Regions from separate parts of the Homo sapiens genome. Here region 1 is linked to region 2. Evidence: promoter capture Hi-C in human tissues and cell types (Jung and others, 2019). All regions are on one chromosome and are shown on one strand. Each heading gives the region's core, a stretch centred on a gene start or on the middle of the fragment in contact. The rest is flanking DNA. Distances are from core to core; before and after follow the strand shown.

Region 1 (5,130 bases), core at 640-3,139, 100 kb before region 2:
CAGTGTTTGGTTTTTTGTCCTTGCGATAGTTTGCTGAGAATGATGGTTTCCAGCTTCATCCATGTCCCTACAAAGGACATGAACTCATCCTTTTTTATGGCTGCATAGTATTCCATGGTGTATATGTGCCACGTTTTCTTAATCCAATCTATCATTGATGGACATTTGGGTTGGTTCCAAGTCTTTGCTATTGTGAATAGTGCTGCAATAAACATACATGTGCATGTGTCTTTATAGCAGCATGATTTATACTCCTTTGGGTATATGCCCACTAATGGGATGGCTGGGTCAAATGGTATTTCTAGTTCTAGATCCTTGAGGAATCGCCACACTGTCTTCCACAATGGCTGAACTAGTTTACAGTCCCACCAACAGTGTAAAAGTGTTCCTATTTCTCCACATCCTCTCCAGCACCTGTTGTTTCCTGACTTTTTAATGATCGCCATTCTAACTGGTATGAGATGGTATCTCATTGTGGTTTTGATTTGCATTTCTCTGATGACCAGTGATGATGAGCATTTTTTCAAGTGTCTGTTGGCTGCATAAATGTCTTCTTTTGAGAAGTGTCTGTTCATATCCTTTGCCCACTTTTTGATGGGGTTGTTTGATTTTTTCTTGTAAATTTGTTTAAGTTCTTAATAAATTCTAGATGTCAGCCCTTTGTGAGATGGATAGATTGCAAAAATTTTCTCCCATTCTGTAGGTTGCCTGTTCACTCTGATGGTAATTTCTTTTGCTGTGCAGAAGCTCTTTAGTTTAATTAGATCCCATTTGTCAATTTTGGCTTTTGTTGCCATTGCTTTTGGTGTTTTAGACATGAAGTCCTTGCCCATGCCTATGTCCTGAATGGTATTGCCTAGGTTTTCTTCTAGGGTTTTTATGGTTTCAGATCTGACATTTAAGTCTTTAATCCATCTTGAATTAAATTTTGTATAAGGTGTAAGGAAGGGATCCAGTTTCAGCTTTCTACATATGGCCAGTTTTCCCAGCACCATTTATTAAATAGGGAATCCTTTCCCCATTTCTTGTTTTTCTCAGGTTTGTCAAAGATCAGATGGTTGTAGATGTGTGGTATTATTTCTGAGGGCTCTGTTCTGTTCCATTGGTCTATATCTCTGTTTTGGTACCAGTACCATACTGTTTTGGTTACCGTACCCTTGTAGTATAGTTTGAAGTCAAGTAGCATGATGCCTCCAGCTTTGTTCTTTTGGCTTAGGATTGACTTGGTGATGTGGGCTCTTTTTTGGTTCCATATGAACTTGAAAGTCGTTTTTTCCAATTCTGTGAAGAAAGTCATTGGTAGCTTGATGGGGATGGCATTGAATCTATAAATTACCTTGGGCAGTATGGCCATTTTCATGATACTGATTCTTCCTACCCATGAGCATGGAATGTTCTTCCATTTGTTTGTGTCCTCTTTTATTTCGTTGAGCAGTGGTTTGTAATTCTCCTTGAACAAGTCCTTCACATCCCTTGTAAGTTGGATTCCTAGGTATTTTATTCTCTTTGAAGCAATTGTGAATGGGAGTTCACTCATGATTTGGCTCTCTGTTTGTCTGTTATTGTTGTATGGGAATGCTTGTGATTTTTGCACATTGATTTTGTATCCTGAGACTTTGCTGAAGTTGCTTATCAGCTTAAGGAGATTTTGGGCTGAGACAATGGGGTTTTCTAAATATACAATCATGTCATCTGCAAACAGGGCCAATTTGACTTCCTCTTTTCCTAATTGAATACCCTTTATTTCTTTCTCCTGCCTGATTGCCCTGGCCAGAACTTCCAACACTATGTGGAATAGGAGTGGTGAGAGAGGGCATCCCTGTCTTGTGCCAGTTTTCAAAGGGAATGCTTCCAGTTTTTGCCCATTCAGTATGATATTGGCTGTGGGTTTGTCATAAATAGCTCTTATTATTTTGAGATACATCCCATCAATACCTAATTTATTGAGAGTTGTTAGCATGAAGTGTTGTTGAATTTTGTCAAAGGCCTTTTCTGCATCTATTGAGATAATCATGTGGTTTTTGTCTTTGGATCTGTTTATATGCTGGATTACATTTATTGATTTGCATATGTTCAACCAGCCTTGCATTCCTGGGATGAAGCCCACTTGATCATGGTGGATAAGCTTTTTGATGTGCTGCTGGATTCGGTTTGTCAGTATTTTATTGAGGATTTTTGTGTTGATGTTCATCAGGGATATTGGTCTAAAATTCTTTTTTTTTGTTGTGTCTCTGCCAGGCTTTGGTATCAGGATGATGCTGGCCTCATAAAATGAGTTAGGGAGGACTCCCTCTTTTTCTATTGATTGGAATAGTTTCAGAAGGAATGGTACCAGCTCCTCTTTGTACCTCTGGTAGAATTCAGCTGTGAATCCGTCTGGTCCTGGACTTTTTTTGGTTGGTAGGGTATTAATTATTGCCTCAATTTTAAAGCCTGTTATTGGTGTATTCAGGGATTCAACTTCTTCCTGGTTTAGTCTTGGGAGGGTGTATGTGTCCAGGAATTTATCAATTTCTTCTAGATTTTCTAGTTCATTTGCATAGAGTTGTGTAGAGTATTCTCTGATGGTAGTTTGTATTTCTGTGGGATCGGTTGTGATATCCCCTTTATCATTTTTTATTGCATCTATTTGATTCTACTCTCTTGTCTTCTTTGTTAATCTTGCTAGCAGTCTATCAATTTTGTTGATCTTTTCAAAAAACCAGCTTCTGGATTCATTGATTTTTTGAAGGGTTTTTTGTGTCTCTGTCTCCTTCACTTCAGTTATTTCTTGGCTTCTGCTAGCTTTTGAAGTGTTTGCTCTTGCTTCTCTAGTTCTTTTAATTGTGATGTTATGGTGTCAATTTTAGATCTTTCCTGCTTGCTCTTGTGGGCATTTAGTACTATAAATTTCTGTCTACACACTGCTTTAAATGTGTCCCAGAGATTCTGGTATGTTGTGTCTTTGTTCTCATTGATTTAAAAGAACGTCTTTATTTCTGCCTTTATTTCGTTATGTACCCAAGTAGTCATTCAGGAGCAGGTTGTTCAGTTTCCATGTAGTTGAGCAGTTTTGAGTGAGTTTCTTAATCCTGAGTTCTGGTTTGATTGCACTGTGGTCTGAGACACAGTTTGTTATAATTTCTGTTCTTTTACATTTGCTGAGGAGTGCTTTACTTCCAACTATGTAGTCAATTTTGGAATAAGTGTGGTGTGGTGCTGAGAAGAATGTATATTCTGTTGATTTGGGGTGGAGAGTTCTGTAGATGTCTATTAGGTCCACTTGGTGCGGAGCTGAGTTCAATTCCTGGATATCCTTGTTAACTTTCTGTCTTGTGGATCTGTCTAATATTGACAGTGGCATGTTAAAGTCTCCCATTATTATTGTGTGGGAGTCTAAGTCTCTTTGTAGGTCTCTAAGGACTTGCTTATGAATCTGGGTGCTCCTGTTTTGGGTTTATATATATTTAGGATAGTTAACTTTTCTTGTTGAATTGATCCCTTTACCATTATGTAATGGCCTTCTTTGTCTCTTCTGATCTTTGTTGGTTTAAAGTCTGTTTTATCAGAGACTAGGATTGCAACCCCTGCTTTTTTTGTTTTCCATTTGCTTGGTAGATCTTCCTCCATCCATTTATTTTGAGCCTATGTGTGTCTCTGCACGTGAGATGGGTTTCCTGAATACAGCACACTGATGGGTCTTGACTCTATCCAATTTGCCAGTTTGTGTCTTTTAATTGGAGCATTTAGTCCATTTACATTTAAGGTTAATATTGTTATGTGTGAATTTGATCCTGTCATTATGATGTTAGCTGGTTATTTTGCTTGTTAGTTGATGCAGTTTCTTCCTAGCCTCTATGGTCTTTACAATTTGGTATGTTTTTGCAGTGGCTGGTACCAGTTGTTCCTTTCCATGTTTAGTGCTTCCTTCAGGAGCTCTTGTAAGGCAGACCTGGTGGTGACAAAATCTCTCAGCATTCACTTGTCTGTAAAGAATTTTATTTCTCCTTCACTTATGAAGCTTAATTTGGCTGGATATGAAATTCTGGGTTGAAAATTCTTTTCTTTAAGAATGTTGAATATTGGCCCCCACTCTCTTCTGGCTTGTAGAGTTTCTGCCGAGAGATCCACTGTTAGTCTGATGGGCTTCCCTTTGTGGGTAGCCCGATCTTTCTCTCTGGCTGCCCTTAACATTTTTTCCTTCATTTCAATGTTGGTGAATCTCACAATTATGAGTCTTGGGGTTGCTCTTCTCGAGGAGTATTTTTGTGGCATTCTCCGTATTTCCTGAATTTAAATGTTGGCCTGCCTTGCTAGGTTGGGGAAGTTCTCCTGGATTATATCCTGAAGAGTGTTTTCCAACTTGGTTGCATTCTCCCCGTCACTTTCAGGTACACCAATCAGACGTAGATTTGGTCTTTTCACGTAGTCCCATATTTCTTGGAGGCTTTGTTCATTTCTTTTTACTCTTTTTTCTCTAAACTTCTCTTCTTACTTCATTTCATTCATTTGATCTCAATCACTGATACCCTTTCTTCCAGTTGATCAATTCGGCTACTGAAGCTTGTGCATGTGTCTTGTAGTTCTTGTTCCAATGTTTTTCAGCTCCATCAGGTCATTTAAGGTATTCTCTATGCTGTTTATTCTAGTTAGCCAGTCGTCAAATCTTTTTTCAAGGTTTTTAGCTTCTTTGCAATTGATTTGAACATCGTCCGTTAGCTCAGAGAAGTTAGTTATTATCAATCTTCTGAAGCCTTCTTCTCTCAACTTATCAAAGTTAATCTCCATCCAGCTTTGTTCCGTTGCTGGTGAGGAGCTACATTCCTTTGGAGGAGAAGAGGCACTCTGATTTTTAGAATTTTCAGCCTTTCTGCTCTGGTTTCTCCCCATCTTTGTGGTTTTATCTACCTTTGGTCTTTGATGATGGTGACGTACAGATGGAGTTTTGATGTGGATGTCCTTTCTGTTTGTTAGGTTTCCTTCTAACAGTCAGGACCCTCAGCTGCTCATCTGTTGGAGTTTGCTGGAGGTCCACTCCAGACGCTGTTTGCCTGGGTGTCACCAGCAGAGGCTGCAGAACTGCAAATATTGCAGAACAGCAAATGTTGCTGCCTGATTGTTCCTCTGGAAGCTTCGTCTCAGAGGGGTACC
Region 2 (4,930 bases), core at 635-3,134:
TCCCAGCTACTCAGGAGGCTGAGGCAGAAGATTCACTTGAACCCGGGAGGTGGAGGTTGCAGTGAGCCGAGATTGTGCCACTGGACTCCAGCCTGGGCAACAAAGTGAGACTCTGTCTCAAAAAAAAAAATAATAATAATAATAGAAAATAAAAAATAAAATAAATAAATAAATAAATAAATAAATAAATAAAAAGTTTATCAGGGTCCTAATCCTTTCCCAGAAGGCAAACTAAAGCCTGGAGCAAGACAAGGTCTTCTCCAAGGCCACACAACTGTCAGTGACAGAGGATTCAGTTCAAAGTCCTGTCTTTTCAGGCCTGTGCCTACAAACCAACCGTTAATCTGAGTATTTCAACCTGGCCAAAGGCAACACAAAACACCCAACCCTATATTTTTGGGAAAGAAAAAAACGGGGGCAACTGAGCAGACAGACAGAGGCAAGTACAATGTGGCCTCCTAGATAAACCTCAATGCGCTTATTTCTTTTGGCACAGACACTTCCTTCTTAATTTTGAAGGAAAGTCACATCACATTACATTCTATCTGTCCCTAAGAATTAAACCCTGTTAGGTGAGCCAAACTTAAACACATTAAATTCTACAAATAGGCCAGGCACAGTGGCTCACGCCTGTAATCCCAGCACTTTGGGAGGCCAAGGCGGGCGGATCACCTGAGGTCGGGAGTTCGAGACCAGCCTGACCAACATGAGAAACCCCCGTCTCTATTAAAAATACAAAATTAGCCTGGCGTGGTGGGCCATGCTTGTAATCCCAGCTACTCGGGAGGCTGAGGGAGGAGAATAGCTTGAACCCAGGAGGCGGAGGTTGCGGTGAGCCGAGATCGCCCCATTGCACTCCAGCCTGGGCAACAAGAGCGAAACTCCGTCTCAAAAAAATAAACAAACAAATAAATTCTACAAATAGCCATTAGAATTATTAGGATAGAAAACGATGATGGGTACTAACAGATTCACTCAGAAGGAGTGGGCAGCTAATTCACATTATGTGTAGCTCTGGCTTGGAGAAGACACAGGGCTTGGAGGAGGCAAGACTGTTCAGCATGAATTAAAATTGATTTATGAGCTTGCTGTAGCACTTGGAATAGAAAAAAGAATCTTTTCAGCGCCTTTGACCCCTCTCTCAAATTACACCAGGGTGCAACTGAGGAACAACAGTGCCGACCACCCACTTTTCTCGACCCTTGGGGAAAATAACTTTTTTTTGGAAGGGAGAGTCAGTAGATGAGGCTGCATTTTCCACCAGGGAACACGAACTGCTGCGGGAAGATCCCAGCTTCTGGCTAAAGGAGCCGCAGGCCAGCTCGCCATCCAGTCCCCAGAGCCCGGGCTTTAGGTAAAGCGTGGAGATGCAAATCAGTTTCGCCGCCAAGGACCGGCCAGGCGCGTCTCCTCCCGGGCCTCGCAAGGAACAGGTCAGGGAGACGACTTCCAACTTTCTTGGCCGGACCCTAAACGTTCACCGCCCCTGCCCAGCCGCCCACTCCTGGGCAGCCAGCAAGTCTCCATTCACAAGCGGCTCCATGCTGCCCAGCACTGGCGCCCCTGAGGCGCGGAGCCCCGCAGCCAAATGACAGGACTTGGGGGCAAACAAGGACAAAAGTTCCCACCAGGTGGGCACTGCAGGAAGGAGGCCGACAACCCCGAGATTCTCCGAGTCCCGCGGCACGTGCGCTGCGACGCTGGCCGCTTCCCCCGCCGCTCGGGAAGGTCACGCCGCCCGCACACCGAGGCCCGCCCCGCGCCCCGCTCCCCGCTCCCTCTGCCTGGCGCGCTCCCCGCAGCTGCAGGCGCCAGACCGGGCTGCGCTCACCGCCGCGCCGGCGTGGCCGCGTCCAGCTCAGGCTCCGCCGCCCGCTCTCGGCTCCGGGTCGCCGGCTGGGGCGGCCACTTAACACCCACGTCGGCAACGGCCGGCCCTTCGCCCCTCCCTTCGCGCAGGCATCCCGGACTGCGGCCCCGCGAAGCTCAGGAGCGCCCCTGCGGCTGGCGGGCGGCCTGCCCAGGGCCGTGCCCGAGCCGAGACCGGGAGCCGCCACCGCCCACCGGCCCTGCCACCGCCCCCAGCACGGGAAGCGGAAGTGGGCGTGGGGCCGCGGCGCGCACAGCCAGCCCGCGACCCGGCGTGGTGCTGCCGCCGACCCTGGTGAAGGTGGAGAGCGGGGCCTGCGCCTCCGGAGACTTTCCCACCTCTGGGATCCCCGAGACCCTCTCTGAGGCCGGACCCTTGTTAGCCCGCTGGGCTGGGACTGGGGGCTGGGGGCTGGTAATGTCAGTGGTTGGGAGGACTTACTTTTTAGCTACTTTGACCTTGTTGGGAGGCTAAGGCCTTATTTATAAATTATATTTGAGTACAAAATTATACTCGGGATCCAAGGCCCTAATAGGAAATACAACTAAGTATGAAAATACAGGAATTAGCCGGGCATGGTGGCTCACGCCTGTAATCCCAGCACTGTGGGAGGCCGAGGTAGGCGGATCACCTGAGGTCAGGAGTCCAAGACCAGCCTGGCCAACATGGTGAAACCCCGTGTACTAAAATTACAAAAATTTATCCAGCGTGGTGGTGCGTGTCTGTAACCCCAGCTACTAGGGAGGCTGAGGCAGGAGAATCGCTTGAATCTGGGAGGTGAAGGTTGCAGTGAGCCAAGATTGCATCACTACACTCCAGCCTGGGCTACACAGCGAGACTCCGTTTCATAAAAACAAACAAACAACGACAAAAAAAAAAAGGTGTGGTGACACATGCCTCTATTCTTAGCTATTTGGGAGGCCAAGGCGGGAGGATCGCTTGAGGCCAGGAATTGGAGGCCGCAGTGAGCTATGATGGCACTGTTGCACTCCAGCCTGGATGACAGAGACCTCATCTCTCTCTCTCTCTCTCTCTCACCCACACACACACACACACACACACACACACACCCTCCACACAGTGTAATTTTATTTTACAACTTTAAGCCTTGTTTAGATGTGCTGTTGGATTATTATTTTTTTCTTTTTTTTTCTTTTTTTTTTTGAGACAGAGTCTCACTCTGTCACCCGAGCTGGAGTGCAATGGTGCAATCTCAGCTCACTGCAACCTCCCCCTCCTGGGTTCAAGCGATTCTCCTGCCTTAGCTTCCCAAGTAGCTGGGATTACAGGCATGCGCCACCACACCCAGCTAATTTTGTATTTTTTAGTAGAGACAGGGTTTCACCACCTTGGCCGGGCTGGTCTCGAACTCCTGACCTCAGGTGATCTGCCTGCCTCGGCCTCTCAAAGTGCTGGGATTACACGTGTGAGCCACCACGTCTGGATGTGCTATTGGATAATTACCTACGTTATTTAAGTGATTTAATTGGTGTTAGTGCTTAACATGAATGCACACTTGAGTAGACCTCCCAGGCTGTAGTAGATGCTATGATGGGATCAGAGTGCCTGGTACATGGACACTCATCAGAATCAGCACTTTAGAACTTGGGCTTCTGGACTGTAATCGAGTTACAAAAACAAGCCAGGGAGTTGGGATGACTTGTCCAAAGTGATGGGGAACATAACTAACTGAAAGCAGATCCAGCAGCTGAAACTACAGTTACAGCAGCTTAAAGGGGTTGGCAATGTCACCTGGTCCAATAGCTTTTGCAGCTTCAGAAAATGAGACCCAAAGGAACCCTGATTAAGGACAGACTTGGCTGGGTGTGGTGGCTCATGCCTGTAATCCCAACATGTTGGGAGGCTGAGGCAGGAGGATTGCTTGAGCCCAGGAGTTCGAGTTGAACCTGGGCAACACAGTGATGTAACTGCCCAATGGGTTCTTCTCGCCCGCTGCCTCAACTGAGCCAATTTATCAAGATGGGGGAATTGCAATAGAGAAACAGTTTAATTCACGCAGAACCAGCTGTGCAGGAGACCAGAGTTTTATTATTACTCAAATCAATCTCCCCAAGAATTCGGGGTTTGGAGTTTTTAGGGATAATTTGGTGGGTAGGGGGCCAGTGAGTGGGAGTACTGATTGGTCATGTTGGAGATGAAATCATAGGGAGTCTAAACTGTCCTCTTACGCTGAGTCGGTTCCTGGGTGGGGGCCACAAAACCAGATGAGGCAGTTTATCAATCTGGGTAGTGCCAGCTGATCAATCCATCAAGTACAGGCTCTGCAAAAATATCTCAATCTTATCTGTGATCTTAGGTTTTACAATAGTGATGTCATCCTGAGGAGCTATTTGGGGAGGTTTAGAATCTTGCAGTCTCCAGCTGCATGACTCCTAAACCATAATTTGTAAACTTGTGGCTAATTTGTTAGTCCTACAAGGCGGCCTAGTCCCCAGGCAGGAAGGGGGTTTGTTTTGGGAAAGGGCTGTTGTCGTCTTTGTTTCAACGCTAAACTATAATCTAAGCTCCTCCCAGAGTTAGTTGGGCCTACACCCAGAACAAGGACAGTTTGGAGGTTAGAAGCAAGATAGAGTCAGTTAGGTCAGATCTCTTTGACCATCATAATTTTCTTGGTTATAATTTTTGCAATGACAGTATCAGTGAGCCCCTGTCTTTACTAAAAATCAAAACAAAAAAAAATTTTTTTAAACCTGGTGTGGTGGCGCATGCCTGTAGTCCCAGCTACTGGGGAAGCTGTGGCAAGAGCTCTTGAGCTGTGTTCATGCCACTGCAGTCCAGCCTGGGCGACTGAGCAAGACCCTGTCAAAAAAAAAAAAAAAGGAAAGACCCTGTTATAGATTAGAAAGAGCACTGGACTTGGGGCCAGGATGTTTGTGTAAATGTCCCTGTGTGACCTTTAGTGAGTCACTTAGCCTTTTGTAAACCCCAGCCACAGCATGACTGCATCACTGGTTCCTTTGAACCCCCTGTGTTCCATCAGCCTGCTGGAACAGTCCACCATGCAGGGCGCTTGGTACTCTCCTCGAGCCATTGGGCCCT

What was found. Contacts are between HindIII fragments. The study calls those that stand out against the background at their distance.
Region 1: a contact is called between a fragment that was not itself captured here and the fragment with the promoter of SLC25A15 in region 2, in 2 of the 25 tissues and cell types used here (H1 embryonic stem cells and dorsolateral prefrontal cortex).

The regions. Positions count from the first base shown.
Region 1 is chr13:40,887,728-40,892,857 of GRCh38, reverse strand. It overlaps the pseudogene TPTE2P5. Among named protein-coding and RNA genes, the nearest start is that of MIR621, 80 kb to the right of the region's middle. The HindIII fragment of the contact is 5,874 bases long and covers 1-4,826 here.
Region 2 is chr13:40,786,565-40,791,494 of GRCh38, reverse strand. SLC25A15 (solute carrier family 25 member 15) reads right to left here and starts at 1,884. Exons shown (of 7, transcript NM_014252.4): 1 at 1,832-1,884. RefSeq lists silencers at 308-602, 1,735-2,314. The HindIII fragment of the contact is 20,114 bases long and covers 1-4,930 here.